Linked DNA regions of Homo sapiens: all the other regions are linked to region 2. Evidence: promoter capture Hi-C in 16 types of primary human blood cells and fetal thymus (Javierre and others, 2016). All regions are on one chromosome and are shown on one strand. The core of a region is centred on a gene start or on the middle of the fragment in contact, and the rest is flanking DNA. Distances in the headings are between cores, read along the strand shown.

Region 1 (4,115 bases), core at 326-2,825, 500 kb before region 2:
CCTGCTCAGGGTGCCCACAAAGCTTCTTAGGGAAAAGAGCTTGGAAACTTTAATAGGACAGTAACATTCCAAGCTCAGCATGGATGGCAGAGAATCCACAATTCTCCCTGGCATGAGATTTTTCCAGAGGCCTTGTCCATAATGCTTGCACGCCGGAACTTGGAATTTCCAGATGTGATATTAGGGCTATGGGCAGTCAGTTTGCCTTTACAAAAGCAAATCTGAACCTTAGCCTCTAGTAATTATTGGGGGAAAAATATTTCTATAACTTTCTTCTTCTTTTTTTGGACCTTTATTCTGATGTATGGCTTGGAGTTGCTCACATTTAGATAAGAAACTTCAATGTGTTGACAGTATAATTATTTCACAATAGTTAAGATAGTGAATTCCACAAACTTACTTCCAGCATCATTCTATCTCTGACAGAGGCTCACATTTTCTCTTAATGCCTGTTTTAAATATATAGATAAATTTCATTTGCATATTCATGAGAAAATCTATTTCTCCTCCTATCTTCTAATTCCCAATATGGTTGCATGTAATTTAACCATTTCTGACAGTCCTGGTAAAGAGTTTGGTCAATTTCTAAAGGTAAGAACTATTCTAGAAAATAAACTGTTAGGAAACAGAAACCTCAATGTGGAGAAAGTTGCCAGGCGGGCTGCTAGAATGTGACATTTTTTATGCCCTGGAGCTGGTGGTAGTGTGATACAATAAGAAGGTGAGACACCTAATCCAGCCCTGCCAACTCCCAGCTCTGTGATCCTTAGAAAGTTACTGATATAATTTGAACCTTAATTTATCTATCAAATGTGATTTGAGAATAATAATCTTGTAGATGTGATAGGATTAAGTAAAATAATATTTGTAAATTACCCAGTACATTTATATTTAAACTTACATAAGACTGTATGCCAAGCAGGGTTTGAGTGCTCTGCAAATACAATTTCATTCTTCATAACAGCCCTGTAAGATAACCTTATTTGTATAAGTGTTCCCATTTTTCAGAGAAGAAAAATGACCTATACAGGGGTTAACTAACTTGGTTAAGGTCACCCAGCTAGTGCCACCTAGCAGGCTGCCTGTCTTAGAACATGCAATGGTGGATAAATACAGCTACCAGAATATAATATCAGATATGTTTTTAAAATGGAATGAGAAACCATCTCTCTAGGGTTGGCCCTACACACTACAAATGTCCAACCTGGGCATCTAGTCATTGAAGCCCCGCACCTAACCACAGAGTGGTGCCTTCCCCATAGAACAGGTTACTCCATGTATGTTCATGTTCATTTCGATTGCTGCCCCATTGTATTTTCATGATTTCCTGCTATTTTTTTTAGTTTTGTGGCATAGATATTGCTATTTCACCTGTAATGTGACTATTGCCTCAACAGTTGACTTCCTCTGTTAACATTATTGTTTTCTTAGCTGTTTCCTTCCCCATTTTCACCTCCAGTTGTCTACATTTACATTCCCCAGTTCTCTAACAACTTTCTACCCTCCTGGGCTAACGCATATTTAATAAGTTTGTATGGTTTATCTTTAAAGTTTGTTTTTCCTGCTTTTAGAGCTATTAAGTAGAACTCGATAAATTGCTGGAGGATAAATTGTGGTGCACATTGAATCTATGCAAATTTGTATTTTGTTTTAAGTGTCTCGTTTTCTACAATCACATGCCTGGCTGATAAATCAATGGCTTTATTTTCTATAGAACCTCCCTCGGCATGATCTTCAAGGCAGGTAACCCTACTCCATCAGACCTCCTGAACTAGTCCTCCTCCGTTACTTAACCTAGTGCCTATCTTAGAACATGCGATGGTGGATATATTCAGCTGCCAGAATATAATATGAGATATGTTTTTAAAATGGAATGAAAAACCCTCTCTCTAGGGTTGGCCCTACACACTACAACTCTCTTTGTCATACCCTTAGCCACCAGATCCCTACCTTCAGGTCACCAGCCTGGAGCTGCAGTCATTTGAGTTTGTGATTAATGCTTTAGCATTGGATTTCTGGATATCCAGAGGTAACTGAGTTTCAATCATGCTTGACGCCCCTTGCTTTGTTTCTAACTTTGCTTTTTACTTGCCTTCCACCTTGTTTTGACTTCACCATCAATCCAGTCTTGGGTTCAAACTGACTCTGGTTTTCCCCACTTCTTGAGTGACTCCCAGCTAATCTTTGTTGTTCTGTCATAACTAGGTCTTGGTTCCTCACTGGCTGTTGGTCCCTGACTTGGGTCCGGTGCTTATGACATTCCGCTGCCTTGTTCCAGGCTTGCCCTACGTGGCAGCCACCATATCCACTTCTTCTTCTGAACCCTGCTGACTTAGGGGCTTCTGGTGCACTCTCAACACCTAAGGACTGCTTCTGCCTTGCAACCCGGTCTCTTTTAACCTTTTGTGACATTTGAGTCAGTCTTTAGGAACTGCACAAGCAAAGCTGCTGAGAGTCTCTTGCTAAATGTTGTTCTTATCATCTTCTTTGTGCTTTGCAGTAAGTTATGAGCACATTCCCTCTTATCAAGCATTAAGTGAGGTGTTGTGGTAGAAACACTATTACTTCCTTCCTAAGTCGGTGTACTGCATATGTGGAGAAGTTGGCCAAATGCCCCATGCTTGGGCTTTTGGCTAAGCCCTAGCACATGCAACTTATACAAAAGAAGCTGCTAGCTCAGCACCTGACTGGCATCCCTGAAGCCCGTGGGGAAAGTATGTAAATTTGATTCAAAAAGGAACTCTGGATTGCCTACACTAATGCTATAATTCTGACTGTTAATCCTGACAAACAGCGGCCTGTAATTCTTGTTAACTCTCTAGTATCTAACCTGACATATACCATACCATTTCAAAAGATCAATTCCCAGTAAATACAGGATGTTTTCAGTTGACTGTCCACAGTATTTAGCAAAGATGTTTTACACCAGTGCCCAAAAGACAGGTCTTTAATAGCCACCACTTCTGTTTCAAGCTGCAGACAGTAGGGGTAGATAGAAGTACACATCTGAAAGACAGCTGAGTGTTTCTTCCCGACACCAGACGCTTCTCTCCTGGAATAGGGCCAGATCGGAGCTGTCTGGATTCTTTGTGAGCCTGTTCCAAACTAACGTATTTATTATCAAGGAGGAAAGCTTGCCTGATGTTAGATCACTGATGTTTGCTTTGCAGTGTTTTCTTGCAGAAAATTGCAAGAAAGAGCTTGAAACAATTTTGGTGAGGAAACTACAGAGAAATCCACTTTTCTCAAGGGTGAAGTCCTGACAATACCCCTGCAGATTGGGAAAACTGGCTATCACCTTTTTCCTCTTTTTATAAGAAAAGTGATGCTTCCCAAATGATAAATAGTGACAATATATGAGGGTCTAATGGTATTTTGTTAAAGGCTGGAGCATTCTTACTGAATGTTTTAAATATTCTTGGTTATGAGAATAGGGATTTATTTTTAAATGATTATTTGGCCCAGACAATGCTTATAAAATATGTACATTCTGTTGGTACAACATACAAATCTTTTGTGGTGGTTTTGAGAAAACCCCAGACTTCTCAAGTCTGGGAACAGATGGAGCTCTAAACTCAACCGCATCTTACAAAAAGGACATGTGTTACTATCTGCCTGTCTTTTCACTTTATGTGAGATGTTCCACTTTCTAGTGAGCAGTTATCAGACTTCTGTGAGTATACAAACTTTTGAAGTGGATGTGTTACACAGTTGTAAAATTAGAGAATTTTGGACTCAGCTATGTCTTTTAACAGGTATTGGTAATTAAGACCTTTGGAAAGTGATAACCATTTAAATGTGTTTCACAAGATGGGATCTGTAGCATTTTGGTCACAGGTATCGACATGTATACATCTGTAAGAACTTGAACTCAAATGCTTTGAAAACATCAAGATAAAATAGTTCATTTAAATTATAAAATTTCTCATTCCCTCATTCCTGTGTAGCTGACTAAAATCCACTGGATAAGACCTAACTGGTGGTGTATGCAGGGCACTGGAGATGTTGTACATTATTCATAACTTTAGCTGGTATTTATGAACTTCCTACTATTCAATTAGGAAGTTATTTATGCTAAATCTTGACAGAGCAATCTCAAAGTATAGAGTTTAGAA
Region 2 (4,120 bases), core at 475-2,974:
ACCTCCGAAGCAAGCGATAACTGTCATTTTGGTATCTTTTATTCTTCCTTCTTTATCTAAAGACAAATTACAAAAATGAATCTATTCATACATATTGTATTTTAATCTGATAAGTTGTGTATAAACTAAATCATTTTCCCTGTTACTAAATATTGTTCAAAAAAATTATTTTCAGTGGCCACATGCTTTCCCATTTGTAAAGCAGTATCATACTGTATTTTAAAAATATATTGCTGAGCATAATGGTTGTTTCCAAACCACCAGTATTTCAAAGAGGCTGCATTGACCATCCTTATAAGTAAATATCTCTACATATTCATAATAATTGGTTTAGAATCGATTTCTAAAGTTAGAATTGCTGAATCAAATGGTATATCTTAAATGTATATTTCATACACGTTTTAATGTACTGCTAAATTGCCTTCCAGAATGTTTGTGCCAATTATTACTTTTAGTAGTATATCAAATACTTTTTAAACAATAGATACATTCACTTTAAAAAGAAATGGCAATGACTTTTAATTTTTTAGCTTATTTTATTGAGTTTGAAAAAGATTTGGCCACTTGTTTTTTTCTCTCTTGTATACTGTATGAACATTTGAATTTAAAAAATGTATACTGCACTGCTTCTTTAATTGTCATATTCACTGAGGTAACATTTGTTGAGCATCTACTCAAGACAGGCACACTGCACAGGGTGAGAGATGTAAAGACCAGGACACTTATGCTAAAGTCAGTGGTGTCCATGAAGAGCAGAGGCACAGTGAAATTTGCCTGGTCCTTCTAGGGGCTTTGGAGATGCATATTAAACATCTGAAGCCAAGGGATTCTTCTTAGAGCTGTCCTCCCAAGAAAGAGGGAACCAAACAATGAGGAGATTTGGCAAGTCCTACCCAAAGAGAACTGACATTTCTTAGGCATTTTATGAAGAGATACATAGAACTCCAGTTCCACTTGTTAAAAGCAATAACTGCTTTCACTTACTGAACATGCACGCTGTGGCAGGCTCACTGCTGATATTTTACAACTTTCTGCGATCAGAAAGGTTATAACCCGTAGATCTGCCAATGAGTGGATTCTGACCCTGGGTGAAGTGAATGAACTAGCCCAAGAGTTTGCAATTCTAAGTGGAAATGCTGGGATTCACCATCTGATCTGATGCTTTGCTCTGTCTTCTCTTATTTACACCCAGGTTTCTCAGCTTTCCACCTTTGTTATATTTGCATTTTGCCATACCTGCCTGTTAACCTTTTCTTAAAACAAATTGATCATCTATGTTTATTTTTGAACACTTTGTTGTTAGTTTCCTTAAAAAGGAAACTTTGTATCTCTATTATAAATAGAAAATCAGTTATATTTGCCATATAAAAATAAAATAAGTAAAAATGTATGGTTTCATGTGTACCACCAAAAAGCATTTCATCTTTCTATCCCCTTTCCCATCTCTTGCCAGAGGCCAGGCTATAACACCTGAGGAAACACTGCCCCAGTCACTGCAAACATTTAGTCACTAGGGACAGCAGAACAAGACTGTGGGAACTTGGTAAGAACCTGGGACCCTTTGTACCTTTCTTCTGTTGGTTTCTTTATTCTCATTCTCTTCTGGATGGTCTCCAGAATAACTGGGGAGACAACACTTACAGGAAAAGCGCATGTGTTCTTGTCTCAGAGTGGAAGAAAGAAGAGCCGCCGTGTTCCAGCTAGTGCTCAGAGAAGGTGCTCTACATATCTTGTTGACCTTGATTTGAGCTATAAAAGGCTGCTGACTCAGAGCATTAAAACAGAACCACTGGCTTATTCTCTGAGTAATTCAAGTCTGCCTTTCCCTCAGTCGATCCCAGAGGTGGCTAGTCAAGCCTGGCGATGTTCATTTACCATCAGAGATTAAGCCTGTCTGGCCAGGCTTTGTCTGGTAGCATTTTCTTAATCAAATATAATGACAATTTGAATAAACTCAAGTCCATTGAACATTGTTCATGTTTTATTATTAAGAAAAAATAGGCACTTTGATTCTTGGAACACTTTTTAAAAGGCTCCTCGCTGTGTCAGTCTCTGTTTGTTATTTTGGGGCATGACAGTTATCTAAAGAGAACCAGCCAGATTTAATCTGACAGCCACAGTCAGGGAAGAGCGCTACCAATCTAATTATCCAGTAATCTAGTCAGAATGGGAGTAATTCTAGGCCTTTCTCAGGCAGCTAATCACATTTCCTGTGCATTAGCAGCCACACATGGGGAGCTTTTAGGAACAAGGTTTTTGGCCTGCACGGGCTTCATGAGCCTCATAGTGGTATAATTTCTTTGTTGACTTCTTCCCCCAGAGTGGTTTCTTCAGGATTTTTCATTTTGTTCTCATTCCTACTTTTCCCCTGCATTGCCGAGGGTGTCTTAGCTTAGCTTCAAGTTCTAAGTTTGACGAGCTTCTGACTTTCCTTTCAGAATGCAGCAGAGGAGGAAGGGTACATTCACGGATCCATATGCTTATTTCTTGTGCAGGGACAAATTAAGGAGCGTAACACAGTCTGCAGGGAAAAAAGGGAGAAAAACGTGAAAGTTGTTTTCTTCAAGGAAAGCGCCGTTGTTTGTGGGCCATTTTTCATGTCATTTCTCTATCAATGTGGGTGATTTGAGGGAGGTTTCTAGAGAAAAGGCCGGAGAAAAGAGACAGTTAATGGATATTTAGTTCTGTCGTTGTCTCTGAATGTCAAGCTGTAGGTAATATTGATCTCGTCTCATTTCTGTAATCACAATTTTAACATGGAAAAAGGAAAACACACACACATTCAGGGAGTGGGAGCATTAATGAATTTCCTGCCATTTTCTTTCTCTGAAAACCTCCGTTTAGGATAATTTCATATTAGTCCTGTAAAGCAGAATGTTTTTCGAGTGCATTGGTTTCTCACACTCCAAAATTGAGGTTTCAGTGGCAGTATGCCGCTTCTACCCCCAGCTTTCAAACATTTCTCCAGCTTCTCATAATCACAGCTTGGTTAGTCTGAATCCAAACATTTGAATCTAATAGAGGGGAATTCTAGTCACTAACAGGTTTACAATATAGTAATTTTCCCCAAAGTTATCCATGATAAATGGGCTTCCCAAATAGCCTCTAGCAATCACAGCATAACGCATTAGATGGAACACTCCAAAAAAATAAAAAAAAGGAAATTTGAAATCCTGTGTTAAATTGTCGTGTTACAATTTTGAACGGGTTTCAATCACAATTTGCATCCTCTCAACTGAAATTTTTGTGGGCTTAAACAATGCTTTTATTCCAGTAATTGTGGGAGGTATATGCCACTAGGGGCTGCATAGTTTGGGTGTGCCTCCATGCACAGACAAGAACTGTTGCTGAATCATAAGTATATTTGAGCCTCGTGTCTGAAGCCTGTGGACCTAGAGCCTAACGTGTCTCAGATGGAACACGTAGACTGGTTCCAGTGCTTCTTGTTCTGTTTCTAATTATGTCGTGTCTGCATTCATTCTAGGTTTAGATCTCACAAATGCTATTGATAGAACTTTGCCTAAAAGGTTCAGTAAAACTACAAACAAACCCTAGTTTTGAACTGTCATCCAATATATTATAATAGTATATGAATTTTAGTCTTTCATTGCAGGCACTATATTGTTTGACTCTGATTGTATTGATTGCACAGGCGAAAGTAGGATTATAGCCGAAGAGTAGTTCATGGCTGACATTTTTATCGATGGTTCCATGAACCTGAATGTGTACTTCAATCCACTAAGGTCACTGATTAAAATGTTTACCCAATAAAAATTACATTTAAATATGTCAATAGTACATCAACTTACATAACATCTTTCATCTGAAAATATAACAACATATATGAGAAATTAATGGCATAGTCACTAATCCCTGTAGAAGTATTGCTTAACCATGGTTCACTTCTCACAGAATCAAAAAGAGAGAATAAAAATGGTATAGCAAAGACTTTTAATGATTCCAGCATCTATTAGGGTATCATTGTCACAAATAAAAAGAATACCAGTTCCTACATTTCTCAAGGCTATTTCTCAATACAAGTTAAAATGATTCAGGAATGCAGGAGATGCAAAAAAAGAGGCTGCATATTAAGAGCTTGTTTGAGCAATGGAACCTCTAT
Region 3 (3,927 bases), core at 705-3,204, 360 kb before region 2:
AAGCTAGGTAAGCTAAAAAGAAGAAAACCTGGTTACAGCCCGGTGAATTGATTTTTTTCCAGCCGAGAAATAGATATTTCTCTCACATATATTTGGAAAACTTTAGTCATCTTCATAAAACTTAAAAAGTTACCTAAGCACACACAGCAAGTTTCTCCTTTCTTCCTTTTCCACACCCTTACCAGTTCACTATGTTTCTACCAATCCAGTGCCCAGTTGCCAATGATGTTGCTCTCACATGAATTTACTGCATTCCCTTCTGGTTCCCCAGAAGGTCTTGAAGAAAGAGGTTCAGACTAGTGGACCCAAACAGAATTTCTTGGCTGGTGATACTCAGATTGTGTTCAGAGCCTGGTATGAAGAAGGGGCCAGGTGTAAGAAGTAGTTAATCAACTGCACGTTGATTTCAGGCTGAATATTCAACCATCTGCAGCCACCCGTCTCTAAAAGTCTAGCTGAAGCACAATTGATTGTGCCATAGAATGAGCAAACGCTTGAAAACACAAGTAGGTGAAGGAAGAGAGGCTTCCACGGAGCAAAGGATATTCTTAAAGATGTGAATGTACAGATCCTTCAAAAGCAAAACAAAACAACCCTGTAACACCCTCCTTACACATGAAAATGTAGAAAATCTTGCAGAGGGAGGGAATGAGTTTAGAATTTCCTTAGTACTTCCTGCCTCAGATTTGCATTGATATCCAGTTGGTAACTTGCCAGTTGTTTTAAAACAGCCTTGAAAACTCCAAAGTTCTGTTTTCCTTTGAAAGCCTGAAACATACAAAACTAGTTTTCTAAAATCTTCCAGCGATAGAATTTTTAGGTACAACTCCAAATATTTTCTTTCGCTTCGGGGGGTAATATAATAGCATGAAACTATGATAGCATGAAACTATGATAAATCCTGTTTGTCTCACTTTAGACTGTATAGAATTTTTAATTGGTTTCAAATAAGAGGAAAATAGAAGGAAGGGGCCATCCTTGTTTCTTAGTTTTGTTTTTTTTTCTTAACTCCCCCAAGCCTTCATTATCAGTGGGATTGAACACAATCCCAGTGCATGTTTTGCTATTTTTTTTCCATGATATAGACATTGTTTTTGCAACACTGAGTTTGGTGCCTACTTAAAAGGAGTAGAAACGTAAAAAGTTCATGGTATTTTCTTTTCTCCAGAATGGATTCAAACTTAAGGAAAATATCATGTATATTTAACAGCATCTTTCTAAAGCATTTTCCTTTCACTTTCTTTCAATTTGGAAAAAAAATAGCACAAAATTATAGCACAAAATTATTTCCATGAAGTAATAAAATGTATCTGAGGGCTGGGGGTAGGGATAATTTGCAGGGAGGGACACAATATAGAAGGGAGGATGCAAGTTCATTCTAGGTCTTTCTGGCTTCAGGAATTCTGGAAAGCTTCATTTTTGCACTAGTATGATTTTACACAACCTTTTTGACATTATCAGTCTTTTGGCAGAGAGAGTTCAGTCACAATTATGCCCATGTCAAATTCTAAAATCAAACCAAAACAACAAAAAAAGTATTTTCTTTTAAAATAAAACTTTTTTAATGTCAAACATTTTATTCAGAGTAAATGGTTGATGTTTATTCAAAATTGGCTTCAAGTACTACATTGAAATTGTTTTGTAACAGTCTCATAAGCCACAGCTGTATGTGATTAAATAGTGTAATATCAAAAGCATGTGAGAATAGACGTTTTTATGCTATAGCTATTGCACAGCAAGAGTGCAGATGGAACTGAAGGGAGACCAAAAGCGAAAATGTATTCATGTGGTGTAATACGTGTGTTGAGGATATGTGTTGCTATTTTTTGCAGTAGTGGGAAAATGTTGAACTATTTTGGATGTGCTTAGAAAATATCCTCTCGGAAAACGGAAACAGACATATAATACCATTTTTAAAATGTGGAGTGGATCATGCCATTTAATTAGAAAACACATAGGTGCTGAATAGATCTGAAACCAATTCAAGTGGAAGAATGAAAATTATTCCCATTGAGTACACATTCAAAAAGCAAAAGTGACTTTCTCATTTCTGTTTTGAAATTATAAATTTTTTTTTACTACTTTAATTTATGGAACTATTGTAAGAAAACCTTCATCCCATTGATACCTAAAGAAAAGTATTAGGCAATAAGAATCAGCAACTTACAGATGGCAAAATAGGTGGCAGTATATTGCTTTTTAAAGATATTTGGAAATATGATGCTCTTCAGTGTTGTATAAATATTGCTCTTTTCTTACCAGTGTTAAAAATTACAAAGATACACAAGGACATACAACTTTTGCTTCCATTTCTGTAACAGAGATGTTATCGTAAAGAGGTGTCTAGTTTTAATGAGGTGATTTAATACAGTGTTTTTGAAATAATATTTGTTAATAAAAATTAATAACCTCTAGCTTCCTAGAGATAATAAATCTATAGGATTAATCATACTAATCATCACTACCATTCATATGTGATTGTTTTCAGGGCCTTGAGAAAGCTTATAGAATTGGCTATTTTTAGATTTCAGATTTTAGACAGAAGTAATTTTAAAAAGAAAAAGAGAGTGGCAGACTGAGATGAGTTAAATTTTGCTTGGTTTTGTTTTTATTTTTTTTTATTTTAAGTTGATATTGGCAGATAATCTGGTCTTATTAAAAATGTTTTGTTTTATCCATGTAGGTTTATTACTCAGGGAGTATGTATTATGTGGAATCACGAATAAAATTTTAATAATTCAAAACCAATTCCTAATAAATATCAAATTTCAAAAGTAAGGATAATAAAAGAAAGATAATAGATCCTATCATTTTGTGGGGGAATTCTCTGATTTGTATGTCAATGCATTGGTTTCTAGGTTGGGTTCCTTCACTAGGATCCCTTCCATTGTGAGATAGCTGAGCCTGCTTTAGTATCTTAGTGGTATCTTCAGGTGACCTCGGTTTTGTGTCATTCATGAGTTTTTCTTTTGTTCCCAGATGCTTTCCACAGGGCAGATCAAATGCTGCTTTACTGGCTCTCTGGTGATTTGAAAAATTTAACTGTCTTCATCCTTTCACACATCTAAATCCAGTGCACTGAGAGAAACACGTCCATCACTTGGGAGTGGGTGGATAGAAGTTCCCAGGAGTGGAACAAAATGACAGCCATTCTTTAATCATGACCTTTTCCAGCTTTATTGTGGTGGTTACAATTTTTCTTCTGAGTGGGTAAAATTAAGGTGTATCCAAAAACTTAATTGTGATAGTATGATGCTTTACTTTTCCTCATTTAACTTCCTCTCTACAGGTGGTGCAGAGCTAAATGGTTATGCATGTTTGGCTAAACCAGTTGAGTTAATGAAGGAGACTAGAATTGCCACATTAAAATACTGACAACTTTAGTTTCATGAATGATTATAAGGAGTCAGTGTAACTATAACAATTAATGAAATATTATTTCGACTGAATCCAAAACCTACAAATCCGCAAAACCTACAATCTCTGAATCTCAGAATAGTAGCCTAGAAAACGTGGGAACTGAATACTGTGGTTACCTCAGCTATACTGTAGTATTGTAGGAGGGAAATAACTCCCCAAGGGCATATAAACAAGAACATTATCTTTTCTACTTTTTCTTTTGAGATTCCCTTCTTGTTTTTCAAAAAGCCCCTGTTAGCTGAATTAATGAAAGCAAATGACATATGCTATTTTAAATTATTATTTAAGCTTTGAAAAATCATACATTATTTTCATATAACTTAGTCCATAAGTTCCTATTATGCTTGCTTCTCTGAGTATATTTGGAGTATAAAACAAGGAAGATAATCCTTTGGGAAAGTTGGTTTCTGTTCATATCAGTCTGTGTGTTCATTTATTCATTTGTGAAATGGGTGAAATAACCCTGACCTCAACAATATATTATAGTGGCCTCTGCTATGGAAGGTA

Evidence for each region. The method cuts DNA at HindIII sites, captures the fragments that hold promoters and counts their contacts. A CHiCAGO score of 5 or more calls a contact.
Region 1: a contact is called between a fragment that was not itself captured here and the fragment with the promoter of RBMS3-AS2 in region 2, in 1 of 17 cell types (endothelial precursors). The highest score is 5.2, in endothelial precursors.
Region 3: a contact is called between a fragment that was not itself captured here and the fragment with the promoter of RBMS3-AS2 in region 2, in 1 of 17 cell types (endothelial precursors). The highest score is 5.9, in endothelial precursors.

Annotation. Positions count from the first base shown.
Region 1 is chr3:29,141,988-29,146,102 of GRCh38, forward strand. No RefSeq gene overlaps it. Among named protein-coding and RNA genes, the nearest start is that of RBMS3-AS3, 140 kb to the right of the region's middle. The HindIII fragment of the contact is 3,111 bases long and covers 21-3,131 here.
Region 2 is chr3:29,641,092-29,645,211 of GRCh38, forward strand. It overlaps RBMS3-AS2 (RBMS3 antisense RNA 2), which reads right to left and starts at 1,725. Exons shown (of 3, transcript NR_174948.1): 1 at 1,568-1,725; 2 at 3-56. The region is part of intron 4 of RBMS3 (RNA binding motif single stranded interacting protein 3); the gene reads left to right. The HindIII fragment of the contact is 8,371 bases long and covers 1-4,120 here.
Region 3 is chr3:29,285,304-29,289,230 of GRCh38, forward strand. The region is part of intron 1 of RBMS3 (RNA binding motif single stranded interacting protein 3); the gene reads left to right. Among named protein-coding and RNA genes, the nearest start is that of RBMS3, 6.2 kb to the left of the region's middle. The HindIII fragment of the contact is 1,090 bases long and covers 1,410-2,499 here.